Regions from separate parts of the Homo sapiens genome. Here region 1 is linked to region 2. The links are contacts of gene promoters, found by promoter capture Hi-C in human tissues and cell types (Jung and others, 2019). All regions are on one chromosome and are shown on one strand. Each heading gives the region's core, a stretch centred on a gene start or on the middle of the fragment in contact. The rest is flanking DNA. Distances are from core to core; before and after follow the strand shown. Region 1 overlaps CUL9 (cullin 9). Region 2 holds the start of PTK7 (protein tyrosine kinase 7 (inactive)).

Region 1 (6,936 bases), core at 1,447-3,946, 120 kb after region 2:
ACGCCCGGGCTCTGAGAGCCTGCTCCTCACTGTCCCTGCAGCCGTGATCCTGATGCTGAATACTGAGGGGTCAGGGCATTACCTTCCCAACTCCAGGCTCCTGCTTAGTCCCAAACCCTGCTACTCCTGTGCTCCAGGCTCATGTACTCCACAGAAATTCCCCTCACGCTGTCACCTCCGGATTAAGCATTGGTGGCGCTGCCAACTGTTGTTGGAGGAGAACCCAAGTGGATTGGGGATAGGGAGATTCCCAGAGAGGGCAGAGACACACTGACTTCCCTTTATGGGTTTGGGAGGAGTGGCCCAAGGTCAGGGGATCAGATGTCCTGGCTCAGAGGGCCCACTGGAGCCCTTTGCTCCCTAGCTGCCCGGCCTTCTATGCTTGCTTTGCTGCTTCCATTGCATTCATGGTCTCTCAGTTTCTTCCTGGTCACCTCCCTCCTCCCAGGTGCTCTTCTGCAGCGAGAAATGGCTTACTCCTGCTCAACCTACTTTTGTGCAACCACCACACTCTGGGAGACCAGATTATAACCCAAGAGCTGAGAGACACGTTGTTTAGGCACTCAGGGATAGCACCAAGAACAGAACCTATGCCTACCACACGCACCATCCTCATGATGCTTCTCAATCGCTACTCAGAGCCGCCGGGCAGCCCTGAGCGTGCAGGTACCATTGTGGAGGGGTGGTTTTGCAGAGGAATCACACAGTGCCAGCCAGGTTTACATATCAGCTCCTTACTGGAAAGATACAAGGAAACTTCAGGAAATGAGCAAGCATTGTGCTCAAGTTAGGTCTTAAGTAGAACTTCCCGACCAAGAAGAGGGAGACTGTGGAATATGTGCAAGGAAATTGCATTTTTTTTTTTTTGAGATGGAGTTTTGCTCTTGTTTCCCAGGCTAGAGTGCAGTGGCACGATCTCGACTCACTGTAACCTCTGCTTCCTGGGTTCAAGCAATTCTCATGCCTCAGCCTCCTGTGTAGCTGGGATTATAGGCACCTGCCACCACAGCGGGCTAATTTTTGTATTTTTAGTAGAGACAGGGTTTCACCATGTTGGCCAGGCTGATCTGGAACTCCTGACCTCAGGAGATCCACTGCCTCGGCCTCCCAAAGTGCTGGGATTGCAGGTGTGAGCCACTGCACCTGGCTGGAAATTGCCTTCTTGAATGGCTTTAAACATATGTGGATTCATATCCATCTGGGCTAGGTTTGGCCCAGTATTATTGGACAGTAGAAGACTCATTGAAATGACATCTAGGGAAGCCTTTCTCTTTTTTTGTTTTAAGCTTAACTGGTTTTTTTTTGGAGGTGGAGTCTCACTCTGTCGCCCAGGCTGGAATGCAGTTGCACGATCTCTGCTCACTGCAAGCTCCGCCTCCCGGGTTCAAGGAATTCTCCTGCCTCAGCCTCCTGAGTAGCTGGGATTACAGGTGCGCACCACCACACCCAGCTAATTTTTGTATATTTAGTAGAGACAGGGTTTCACCATGTTGGTCAGGCCGGTTTTGAACTCCTGACCTCGTGATCTGACCGCCTTGGCCTCCCAAAGTGCTGGGATTAGAGGCGTGAGCCACTGTGCCTGGCCTAAGCTTAACTTTCTCTTCACAGAATAGGGAGGCCTTCTTAAGAGAAATTATAATTTATGGTACAGAACACTTGTGCCTGGAAACATTAGATATTGATACTGGGGAAGAAACCCTTTGTGATTGAAAAACAAGTGAAAACCTAGAAGTGTGGAGGGATATTGAAATAGGAAATACGTGGCCAGGTGCAATAGCTCATGCCTTTAATCCCAGCACTTTGGGAGGCTGAGGCAGGCAGATCACTTGAGGTCAGCAGTTTGAGACCAGCCCGGCCAACATGGTGAAACCGCATCTTTACTAAAAATACAAAAATTAGCCGGGCACGGTGGTAGGTGCTTGTAATCCCAGCTACTTGGGAGGCTGAGGCAGGAGAATCACTTGAGCCCAGGAGTTGGAGGTCACAGTGAGCCAAGATCATGCCACTGCACTCCAGCCTGGGTGACAGCGCTCTGTGTATTCCTACAAAATAGGAAATATGTATGTATCTTTTAGTCTGTGTACCTAAAGCCACCATGCAGGTAGTACAGGGATATAATCATCATAGTTAATATTTACTATAACTAACATTTAATAATAGGACTATAAGAGATTTAAAATGTCTTGTGTTTAACTCGACAGTGTTTGCTATACTAGGTTTTTTTTTCAAATCTGATTAGGTTTGTATTTGGGGTCAGGAAAGAAAACCCCTCATAGTTTGGTTAAAAACTATAGACATCCTCAATATAGAAGGAAAATTTTGGGGTGATTTTCTGGACCTTCCCAGTTCTCAGTTTGACAAACTGGTAAGACTCTTCATCCACATTTTTCCCTCTGGTGTGTCTGGCTGCAGCACTAGAGACCCCCATCATCCAGGGTCAGGATGGGTCCCCTGAGCTACTGATTCGATCCCTGGTTGGGGGCCCATCTGCAGAACTACTCCTGGACTTGGAGCGTGTGCTGTGCCGTGAGGGCAGCCCCGGAGGTGCCGTGAGGCCCCTCCTCAAGCGCCTCCAGCAGGAGACCCAGCCTTTCCTCCTGTTGCTGCGGACTCTGGATGCTCCGGGGCCCAACAAGACTCTGCTGCTGTCTGTGCTGAGGTGAGGGGCCTGTTGAGGCACCATGCATTGGGACGAGGGAAACTGGCAGACTTCAGGGACTTCACTTGTTTCTTTTCTGTTTTCTTTTTTTTTTTTTTGAGTTGGAGTTTCACTCTTGTTGCCCAGGCTGGAGTGCAATGGCACGATCTCAGCTCACTGCAACCTCTACCTCCCAGGTTCAAGTGGTTCTCCTGCCTCAGCCTCCCGAGTAGCTGGGATTGCAGGCATGTGCCACCATGCCCAGCTAATTTTGTATTTTTAGTAGAGATGGGGTTTCTCCATTTTGGTCAGGCTGGTCTCGAACTCCCGACCTCAGGTGATCCGCCCACTTCGGCCTCCCAAAGTGCTGGGATTACAGGCATGAGCCACTGTGCCTGGCCTGACTTCACTCGTTTCTACCCCCTCACCAGGGTCATAACCCGACTGCTGGATTTCCCTGAGGCAATGGTCCTCCCCTGGCACGAGGTCTTGGAGCCCTGCCTCAACTGCCTGAGTGGCCCTAGCAGTGACTCCGAGGTACCAGAACCCTGGCAAGGAGAAGAGAGGGAAGGGCAGCATCTGGGGCACCAACTCCTTGTGAGGCTCTGGAGGGCACAGCAGAGCCTTTCTGAATGGATCTTGGGGCACTGGGATGGGTGTAGGAGGAGGAAGGGTAATGTAATCTAAGAATCTCCAGAACTGGAATCTTTGAAGTATAAACCTTTTAGATGATTTTAGATTTGGAGTTTAGATTCTGGACTAAGGAGAAGCCCACATTCACCAATCCAGACAGCTGTCCTCCCTTCCGGGTTTGTGCATTGGAGAGCAAGGCTCAGGCACCAGGGTTAACATAGCTTGGCCTGGGCAGGAAGCAGCCTGGAAAGCTGTGCCCAAGCTCTGTTCTGCCAACTCACTCTGGAGTCCCAGCACTCCTCTATTTTACTCCACCCTGAATTTGGTACTCTTGTTTCCCTGGGCGTTGGCATGTCTCCACAATCTCAGCCACGACACTTCCTTTACTGAACCCTCTCCTCAATCCTTACATGTCCTACCTCTTGTTTCCTGTAAATTAATCTATGTGGCTCTGGGCTCAGATTGTTCAGGAGCTGACCTGCTTCCTACATCGCCTGGCCTCGATGCATAAGGACTATGCTGTGGTGCTCTGCTGCCTGGGAGCAAAAGAGATCCTCTCCAAAGTCCTGGACAAGCACTCAGCTCAGCTGCTGCTGGGCTGTGAGCTTCGGGACCTGGTGACAGAGTGTGAGAAGTACGCACAGCTCTATAGCAACCTCACCTCCAGCATCCTGGCCGGCTGCATTCAGGTGAGGAGCGGCTGTGGGTATGCAGCTGAGAGAATGCAAGTCAGAAGCAGGAGAAGGGGATTCACTGTGTTCCTCTTTGGTATCCCTGTTTGGCACAGGTTGTAGCAAATCTGGGGCACTTGTTTCCTAACCTTGACTCCACATGGTTCTGTCAAAATGTGGGGAGAGAGGAGTTGAGTATACCGTTGACCCTTGACTTTTTCTCTCTACCTGTTTCTGGGCATTTCTCTGTGTTCCTCCCTCTCCTCTTCCTCATTCTCCCTGATGTTCCGGCTGCAGATGGTGCTGGGCCAGATCGAAGACCACAGACGAACCCACCAACCCATCAATATCCCCTTCTTTGATGTGTTCCTCAGGCATCTCTGCCAGGGTTAGTGCCCTCATCTGCTTTCTCCTGGCTCCCATCCAGTGTCTGTTCTCCCCTTCCCTTCCTGCTCCTTAGACCTTTTCCTTTTTCCTCTCAACTAACCTAGCTGTGACTGCCACCCCTTCCCACTTGCCCCCAGGCTCCAGTGTGGAAGTGAAGGAGGACAAGTGCTGGGAGAAGGTGGAGGTGTCCTCCAACCCGCACCGAGCCAGCAAGCTGACGGACCACAACCCCAAGACCTACTGGGAGTCCAACGGCAGCACCGGCTCCCACTACATCACCCTGCACATGCACCGTGGTGTTCTTGTTAGGTGTGAACACACATATATGAATGTTCTGCTGTGCCCCAGGATACTTCCCCAAAGCACCCAGATACACACAACCCCAGCTATAACCCCAATGCCTGAGGGACACACTCAAACCTATTTTGTGCAGTGAACACATAGACACATTGACCTGCCTTTGCTGAGTATAGACATCCCCTCACTCCCAGAGTCTGGTGATCTGTACTCCAACAGGTACAGATGGCACTGCCCTGTGCTTAGTGTTGAGGGAGATAAACAGCTCACTTATCCATTTCTCCTTTGGGCATTTGCTTAATGCCAGGCATTTGTGTCAGGCACTGTGCAAGGGTCTCGAAATAGAAGGACAATAAGATATGGTACCTACATTCCAGCTGGGGAGCTACACTAGAAAATCAAGTAAGAGCACAGAGTAAGAAAAAGCATTGTGGTCCACATGTGGACCTGAGACTGACAGGCATGAGAGCAGACTTCCTTCTGGAAGGAGGGGGTGACTGAGCTGGGTTTTGACATTGAAATTAGGTAGATAAAGAGGGGGCAATATTCTAGGCATAAGGACAGCATATGTGCAAAATGGAAGTAAGAAAGTATATTTGGAGGGACTTTAAGTCATCATATTTGGTTACAATTGAAAGCTGTGTATATCTTTATTTTTATTTTTTTATATTTTTTGAGATGGAGTCTCGCTCTGCCGCCCAGGCTGGAGTACAGTGGTGTGATCTCAGCTCACTGCAACTTCTGCCTCCCGGGTTCACCCCATTCTCCTGTCTCAGCCTCCCGAGTAGCTGGGACTACAGGCGCCTGCCACCACGCCTGGCTAATTTTTTGTATTTTTAGTAGAGACGGGGTTTCACCGTGTTAGTCAGGATGGTCTCGATCTCCTGACCTCGTGATCCGCCCGCCTTGGCCTCCCAAAGTGCTGGGATTACAGGCGTGAACCACTGCGCCCGGCCGAAAGCTGTGTATGTCTAAGTGGCGGAAGATACAGGCCAGAAAAGTAGGCAAAGGCAGATCACAAAATGTTTTGTGAGCTAAGCAGTTTGAACTTTATTCCAAAAGTTGGGAGAGCCATTGGAAGATTTTAAGAAGGGAGGAGAGAAAACTAGATTTTTTATTGAGAAAGCTCACTCTGGCAACTATGGGAGTTTGCGCTGGAGGTAGAAGAAGGAGGTGGAAGGTGTATGCAGTGCTCTAGTAGAGAAAGGATCCATGTGTTCAGTTAGACAGCAGGAGTGGGAACTGACTGGGAAATCCTCAGAGATGGAGTCCACAAGACTTGCCTTTGGGTGAGGGAAGCCATGAGAAGGTGAAGGCCTCAGTGACAGTATTCTAGTTGAGTACTGAGTGCACGGAAGTTTTATTTCCCAGGAGAGAAACAGGAAGCGGGACAGGTTTATGTGGACAGATGATCATTTCATTTGGGCATGATGACTCTGAGGTGCCTGTGGGACATGACATGGAAATACCTGTTGGGGACACAGCATGAAAGCTCAGGAGAGTGGTCTGGGATAGAGATGTGTATTTGGAGTCCTCTGTGTATTAATTTTCAGTTGAAACTGTGGGTTTAAATTAAGTCACTTTGGGTGAATATAGAGGGAAGAGCAGAGGGTCTAGTGGGGACAGCTGCCTCAGGAGCCAGCAGAGGAACAGGAGCCTGAGAAAGAAGTGGTGGCTTGAAATAGTTTTGAACTGAAACCAGGGCTCTGGCCTTTTTATTTCCTTCTTTTGATTTTTATTTCGTAGAGGTGGGGTCTTGCAGTGTTGCCCAGGTTGATCTTAAACTAGCCTCAAGCGATCCTCCCACCTCAGCCTCCCAAAGTGTTGGGATTACAGATGTGAGCCACCACGTCCAGAGGCCCAGCTTTGACTGTTTCCTTTCTTCTTTCCCAGGCAGCTCACTTTGCTGGTGGCCAGTGAGGACTCAAGCTACATGCCAGCCAGGGTGGTGGTGTTTGGGGGTGACAGCACCAGCTGCATCGGCACTGAGCTCAACACGGTGGGGACCCTTGTGCCCACCTTCACCTTGCTCCACATCCTTCTTTTTGTCCCAGTGCCTGTGGGAAGGACCTAGTCCCTGGGGAATGGTGACATCCCTTCCCCTTGGGAAGGTGTTGCCTTGTAAGCAGTGAGAGTGGGATTAGGGATGCAGAGCCACGTCCATCCCTAGGCTCTGCGGGAGAAGTGAAGGGCACACACCATGACCGACTTGGTTACTGTCAACAATTTTTCCAACCTTGTTTCTGGAGGTGACAGTTCTCTCCCTCTTCTCCCCTGCCCTACCAGGTGAATGTGATGCCCTCTGCCAGC
Region 2 (6,965 bases), core at 468-2,967:
GATGGGGTAGTGTTGTCTGTTTCAGGTCTCCCGGGGCCTCAGTGCCAGCACCATGGACCTCTCTTCAAGCAGCTGACATTCAACCCGGCCCCCAGGTCTGCTGGGTCCCCCCACCCCCACAGCCCTCACAGCATTCCCCATTGCTCCTGGCTCTTCCCCACCCCTAGGTGGGACAGTGAAGGGGAGCAGTTTAACCAGAAGATTGCTGCTGCCCTTAGGGTCTCAGCTCCCTCCTCAGGAATCCCTCTTAGGAAGGACCCTCAGGACACCCTCTCTGCACCCTGTGGTCCTCTAGAGTAGCTAGCTCTGAGGCCCCAAGGTGGGTACAAAGCAGGTATGGCCCTCAGAGATGCAGCCTGCTGCTGGCTTTTCAGTCAGAGGGTTGGGGGCTGGCCAGCCAAGCTGCCTTGCCCTGGCCGCTCTTACTCCCTCCCTCTGCTGTCTCACTTCAGGTCCATGTATTTCACTTTTCTTAAATAAAAGAATCAGGTAACCTTTCTGTGACTTGAGTCCTGATTGAAGAGGGTATGAAGCAGGGCTTGTGTTGGGGCCCTTCACAGAAGGTGAGGGGCAGTGATGGATGGAGCAGCAGGAGGAGTGTTGATTCTTGGATCTCTCCTCTCTTCCTCCCGTTGTTTGTATCATCTCCAGCAGGGCCTGTAGGAAGGCATCTGGGGGATGGGGAAGAAGGAGGCTCACAACCCAAGGAGAAGGTGCTGTGGACTGGGTTGTCAGGGACATGTGGTGGCCATGTGGCAGGACCCTGGAGTCCTGGCGCCACTTCTCCTGGCTGTGAGGCCCTCTGTGGCTGCCATTCCTCCTCCCAGCTGCTTGGGGGAAGGGAGGTCTAAACAGGCCTGGGGGGCCCTCCGGAACCAGAGGGGAGACAAGGCACTATCCATCCCCTCTCAGCATATCTTGGAGGCCTGAGCAGCAGCTGGGGCCCATCTTCTAAAGCTTGACTCCTCCTGACCCGCCTCCTACACCCCTTGCTGCTTTCACAACAAAGAAAGAATGTGGGGGTGGTGGCGCTGGGGGTGGGGGTGCCTGGAACAAGGGTTGTGCTGGGCCTCCCCACAGCTGGAGACTTGGCCATACCCTGACACAGCCCAGACTGCCTGGAGATGGACTTGGGATGAATTTGTCAGTTAGCAGACTTCAGCCTGGCTTTCAGAGCCCAGCGTGTTTCTACCTTTGGGTTCAGATTGGTCTACAGCCAAACCAGACCCCAGTCATGCACACTTCAGCCCCTCTCCGGGCTACACAGCATCTTCAGGTTACTTGGGGACATTAAGGACACCCTGCTGTTCTGGGTCTGCCGTTAAGATTTTGGGTTGCTGAAGAGTTGGCGGGGCCCGCCTCTTCCCCTGCCCCCACCTGGAGAATTCTGGGGGAACTGTTGGCCAGAGCCTCCAGGTATGCCCAGAATGGACCATTCTCCCCAGGGTCCACGGAATCGCACAAGTCACTTAGGTTCTCCCGGATCCCTGCAGAGTCGGTGGTGGGTACAGCAAATACTCAGGTCCCCTGCACTTCCCTGAGCCTTGCTCTCTCTATTCTCCATCCCTCTCCAGACCCCTCCCCCTACTGAGCTCCTCCCCGCCTCGGCGAGGAGGGGGCGTCGAGGGGGCGGGGCGCCGTGCGGGGGCCGGAGGGGAGGGGGCGTCGTGGGGCGGGGCTTGGCGGCGGCGGCGGCGGCGCGCGGGGACTCGGAGGTACTGGGCGCGCGCGGCTCCGGCTCGGGACGCCTCGGGACGCCTCGGGGTCGGGCTCCGGCTGCGGCTGCTGCTGCGGCGCCCGCGCTCCGGTGCGCTCCGCCTCCTGTGCCCGCCGCGGAGCGCAGTCTGCGCGCCCGCCGTGCGCCCTCAGCTCCTTTTCCTGAGCCCGCCGCGATGGGAGCTGCGCGGGGATCCCCGGCCAGACCCCGCCGGTTGCCTCTGCTCAGCGTCCTGCTGCTGCCGCTGCTGGGCGGTGAGTACCCGAGAGTTGGGGGCACAGAGCTTGGGAAGCGCGGGAGTCCCGTGGGCAAAAGGCTGCGCCCGGGGCGGTGGGTTTGGGCGGCTGGAACGGCCCTGGAGTAGTGGAGAGGCTCGCTGGGGGTGCAGGCTTGCGGCGGAAGGGCGCAAGGAGCCCGGGTGTCGGGAGGCTGGCGAAGCCTCCAGGGACGCGGTCAGGGTACCCCTCCCACTCGCGCCGCGGGGACGCATTTCCAGCCTCCCTGAGTTTTTCTGGTCTGAGCCGAGAGTTTGCTCGAGAACTGCCGAGAGTTGCTGGCTCTCGGGCCCAGATGGGGAGTTTCTTGTCGGGGGAGAAAAGACCATCCGCACCCACCGTGGGGAGCGCGATGGAGAAAAAGGAATTCCCCACCCCACCCGGCAGGGTCGGCCCAGGTAAGAGTTGCTGGTTTGGGGCCCGATGCCGGACAGACCTGCGGCGCGCAAAGCGCGGAGCTTTGTTACCTACGCCGACCCGACGTTCCCGGCTTCCCTCCTCCGAGTTCCTGGGCAAAGCTGAGACCCCAGATGGCCCTGCGGGTGAGGGCGGAAGAAGGGAAGAGTTAGGGGCCGCCCCCATCCATGGCCTCTAGCTACTGGTCTGGAACCCTGCGCCCACTCCGTGCCAGGGCCGAATCCGGGGATCCGAGGGTCCCAGGCTGTCGCGGTGACTAATGTGTGAAGGCCGCTGCCAAAATCGGGCATGGCCTGGCTGCAAAGGTGCGGACGGGGTTTGTTCTGCTCCTTCCTGGATTTCCATCCTGACTGTCCTCACAGAGGAAAGGAAGTATTTCTAAGGGAAGAAAGGCAAAAAGAGCTCATTCTGGCTTTTCTTGGGGGGGGGCCTTAGCATTTTAACGAGGGTGTGGCCCTCATCACCAGGGCAGACAGCACCGCCCCCCCAACTCCCGCAGCTTTTATTTCCTGGCTTGGTCACACCTAAGAGTCATCACTGAGGTGTTGAAGTGCCTTACAGGAAAGCACCAAGCCACCCGCACATCCCAAATAGCCCGGACTGGAAATAAAGCCCCCGACCCTCCACAACACTCCTTGGTGGTCCTCGAAGCAGCTTTCTCTTGGGGAGCTCTGTCGAGGAGACCTGTCCTAGGTGATCACCTTCCATCTCCTTTGAAGGTGGCAATGGGAAGGGCATGGGTAAGGAATTGCCTTTCTAATATCTTTCTGGCCTGCCAGCTGTGGAGGGGTTTTGGTGCTGGTGGAATCAACATCTCCCCTGCCCCCAGTTGTAAAAGGAGAGGTAAATGTAACCCAGGAAAGAGACCAATCTCCAGGGATTTGGAGGAGGTGTTTCTGGAGTTGCCCCGTTTTTCTTGTGATGTGTGTGGTGGTTATTGCTCGTGGCAGAATCCACATCTGCTCCCAGAGGAAGTATGGAAGTTTTTTTGCACAGCCAGGATGGGGGCCCAGCCATCTGGGCGAGCAGCCCAAGCTCACAGGCCCCCTGGCTGTCCTGGTTGGGTTTTGGTGTGTGGGTCTGCCCAATGAGGCTGCCTTCACTGCTGCTGTTCAGGGTACTAGAGTCAAGGGGAGTTTCTGGTGAAGATGGGGCTCTTGCTCAACAAATGCTGAATTCCTAAATTCCTTCCATGAGAAGATGACTCTGATGTTAATTGACTTAATCTGGTGACTGGTTGGTGTTTAGTGTGTGTGCGCGCGTGTGTGTGGGGGATCCTGTTGGGGGAAGTTAGGGCAGGCTGAGGGCTTAGGACAGGAGGTCTGTAGTCTCCTCAGGGGTGGGGGGATGTCTTGTGCTCAACAAAGGAACATTTTAATGAGAGCCTTAAATCAATTCCACCAAATGTGCCTTGTTGTGGAACCTGTCCATGTGCTGTAAACAATTTCAGTGGAGGCCGAGGCGCCTGCTGTCTTCTAGTGAAATCCTGGGACTCAACCCACCCCCAGACGCATGACTTCAGGGGCAACGGTTTTTTAATAGATCACAGTAGATGTTTGCATCTCATTGTTTAATTGTGTAATTAACTGGAGTTGTAGTGAGATCCCACTGTTAATAAGGCTGGAGTAAGGAACCTAGGCTGGCTAGGTTTGTGGATTAGACCATTTTAAAGTCTGGGTAATTATGCCATAAATGGCAGAGTTACTTTCCAAACTTTGAGATGCTGTTGTAATAAATATGGTGGAGGAGGAGGAGGCTTGATGTTTGAAACTATGGATTCTTAACCCCAACCTCTTGTACAGTCAGCTGTGGTCACTTCTCATTCCAATTCCCATCCCCCTCCCTGGTTTCTTTCCTCCGGGCTCTTGTTTCTTTGGGGAAATTGAGTCGTCATGTTCTGGGATAGGCTGTCTGCAGATTCCTCAAGGCTCTGCAGCCTGTAATTCAGGCCTAGGAGTTGCTTTTATTAGTGATGGCTTTTCTCAGCTGTTGGGAAGTATGGTGGCAGGGCAAGGGTGCTCTTCTTGTCACTTGTCAAATGATATACTCAAACTCCTGGTGTTCAGAGCAGCATTGAGTGGTGGACAGAGCTCAAGCAATGGAGATAAAGTATGGTCCTTCCTTGGCATCTGCAGGGAATTGGAATAGGACTCCCTGAGAATAACAAAATCCAAGGGTGCGGCCAGGCCTGGTGGCTCACGCCTGTAATCCCAGCACTTTGGGAGGCCGAGGCGGGCGGATCATGAGGTCAGGAGATTGAGACCATCCTGGCTAACACGGTGAAACCCTGTCTCTACTAAAAATACAAAAAATTAGCCAGGCGTGGTGGCGGGTGCCCGTAGTCCCAGCTACTCGGGAGGCTGAGACAGGAGAATGGCCTGAACCCGGGAGGTGGAGCTTGCAGTGATCGTGCCACTGCACTCCAGCTTGGGCGAGATCGTGCCGAGATCGTGCCACTGCACTCCAGCTTGGGTGACAGAGCGAGACTCCGTCTCAAAAAAAAAAAAAAATCCAAGGGTGCTCAAGTCTCTTATATAAAATGGTGTCGTATTTACATATAACGTACACACAACTTCCCTGTATACTTTTGTTTTGTTTTGTTATGAGACAGGGTCTCCTCTATCACCCAGGCTAGAGTGCAGTGGCACAATCTTGGCTCACTGAAGCCTCAAATTCCTGGGCTCAAGCAGTCTTCCTGCCTCAGTGCTCTAAAGTATGAGGATTACAGGCATGATCCACTATGCCCAGCTTCTCCTGTATACTTTAAATCATCTCTAAGGGCCAGGTTTACGCCTGTTATCCCACCACTTTGGGAGGCAGAGGGAGGAGGATCGCTTGAGCCCAGGGGCTCAAGACCAGCCTTGGCAACACAATGAGACCTCCACCTGTACAAAAAAAAAAAAAAAATTGCCAGGCATGGTGGCACGTGCCTGTGGTCCCAGCTGCCCAGGAGACTGAGGTGGGAGTATTGCCTGAGCCCAGCAGGTTGAGGCTACAGTAAGCCATGATTGTGTCACTGCACTTCGGTCTGGGTGACAGAGTTCAAAAAAAAAAAAAAAAAAAAGGGCAGGATGCAGTGGCTCACGCCTGTAATCCCAGCACTTTGGGAGGCTGAGGTGGGCGGATCATGAGGTTAGGAGAGCGAGACCATCCTGGCTAACATGGTGAAACCCCATCTCTACTAAAAATACAAAAAATTAGCCAGGCGTGGTGGCAGGCGCCTGTAGTCCCAGCTACTTGGGAGGCTGAGGCAGGAGAATGGCGTGAACCCGGGAGGCAGAGCTTGCAGTGAGCCGAGATTGCACCACTGCACTCCAGCCTGGGTGTCAGAGCGAGACTCTGTCTCAAAAAAAACAAAAAAATCTGTAAATTACTTGTAATACCTATTACAATGGAAATGCTATGTAAATAACTGTTGTATTCTTTAATTTGTATTCTTTTTTATTGTTGTATTGTTTTTAATTTTTATCTTCCCCCAGTGTTTTTGATCCTCTGTTGAGGGATGTGGAGCCCAGGGATAAGGAGTATATCTGGCAAAGCAGCAACTCAGACTCATTGGCAGGCCCTGTGGCCCTGGATGAACCTCTTAGCTTCTCAGCCTCTTCTATAAAGGGACATCCTAGAGTTGTGCTGAGGATTAAGTATAATGAAGTAGGCCGGGTGCAGTGGCTCACATCTGTAATCCCAGCACTTTGGGAGGCCAAGGCAGGCGGATCACCTGAGGTCAGGAGTTCAAGACCAGCCTGGACAACATGGTGAAGCCCCGTCTCTACTAAGAATACAAAAATTAGCTGGGTGTGGTGGCACACACCTCTAATCCCATCTACTCAGGAGGCTGAGGCAGGAGAATCACTTGAACCCGGGAGGTGGAGGTTGCAGTGAGCCGAGATCGCGCCGCTGCACTCCAGCCTGGGCGACGGAACGAGACTCCGTCTCAAAAAAAAAAAATACACACACACACACACACACACAGCCCTTTCTTGGTCTTCCCTCTGTGGTGTGCTTCAAAGATTCCTTCAGCTTTACAGTCATTCCCAACAATAGACATTTTACCTACTGGGACCCTCCATTCCAGTCCAGCTGGAATATTTGCCATCTCCTAACACATATCTGGTTTTCTCCCACCTTTCTTTCCTTCGGGCCAGTCCCCGGTTGTACATTGCCTTCTCCTGTCTCTCTGTTGCCCAGCCCCACCGCCTCTTCTTCCCTGAAGCTGTCCTATCTCTCCTGCCAGAAGGTAGACACTGTAGAACTTCTGGACTGTCATTCTTGCGACACCATCCATATTTTTGCCCCTATTGGGTTTTGTTTTAATTTACTGAGGGGCTCTCCCATAGAGTTTAGTACAGTACTTATTTATAATGGGTTCTTATGTAGGTGGTTTTTTTGTTTGTTGTTTGTTTGTTTTTGTTTTTTTTGAAATGGAGTCTGCCTGTGTCTCCCAGGCTGGAGGCATTGGCACGATCTTGGTTCACTGCAACCTCTACCTCCCAGGTTCAAGTGATTCTCCTACCTCAGCCTCCTGAGTACCTGGGTTTACAGGTGTGTGCCACTGC

Evidence for each region. Contacts are between HindIII fragments. The study calls those that stand out against the background at their distance.
Region 1: a fragment that was not itself captured here is called in contact with the fragment with the promoter of PTK7 in region 2 in 2 of the 25 tissues and cell types used here (adrenal gland and pancreas).

What each region holds. Positions count from the first base shown.
Region 1 is chr6:43,196,197-43,203,132 of GRCh38, forward strand. It overlaps CUL9 (cullin 9), which reads left to right. Exons shown (of 41, transcript NM_015089.4): 10 at 1-69; 11 at 449-666; 12 at 2,413-2,659; 13 at 3,070-3,175; 14 at 3,733-3,960; 15 at 4,240-4,330; 16 at 4,467-4,638; 17 at 6,520-6,625; 18 at 6,913-6,936. Among named protein-coding and RNA genes, the nearest start is that of CUL9, 17 kb to the left of the region's middle. RefSeq lists a silencer at 4,801-5,001. The HindIII fragment of the contact is 5,147 bases long and covers 124-5,270 here.
Region 2 is chr6:43,074,597-43,081,561 of GRCh38, forward strand. It overlaps PTK7 (protein tyrosine kinase 7 (inactive)), which reads left to right and starts at 1,718. Exons shown (of 20, transcript NM_002821.5): 1 at 1,718-1,971. The coding sequence starts at 1,893. KLC4 (kinesin light chain 4) reads left to right here. Exons shown (of 16, transcript NM_201521.3): 16 at 26-497. The coding sequence ends at 76. It overlaps KLC4-AS1 (KLC4 antisense RNA 1), which reads right to left and starts at 1,634. Exons shown (of 2, transcript XR_002956347.1): 1 at 1,099-1,634; 2 at 1-671. RefSeq lists an enhancer at 853-1,376 and silencers at 1,706-1,805, 6,909-6,965. The HindIII fragment of the contact is 20,814 bases long and covers 1-6,965 here.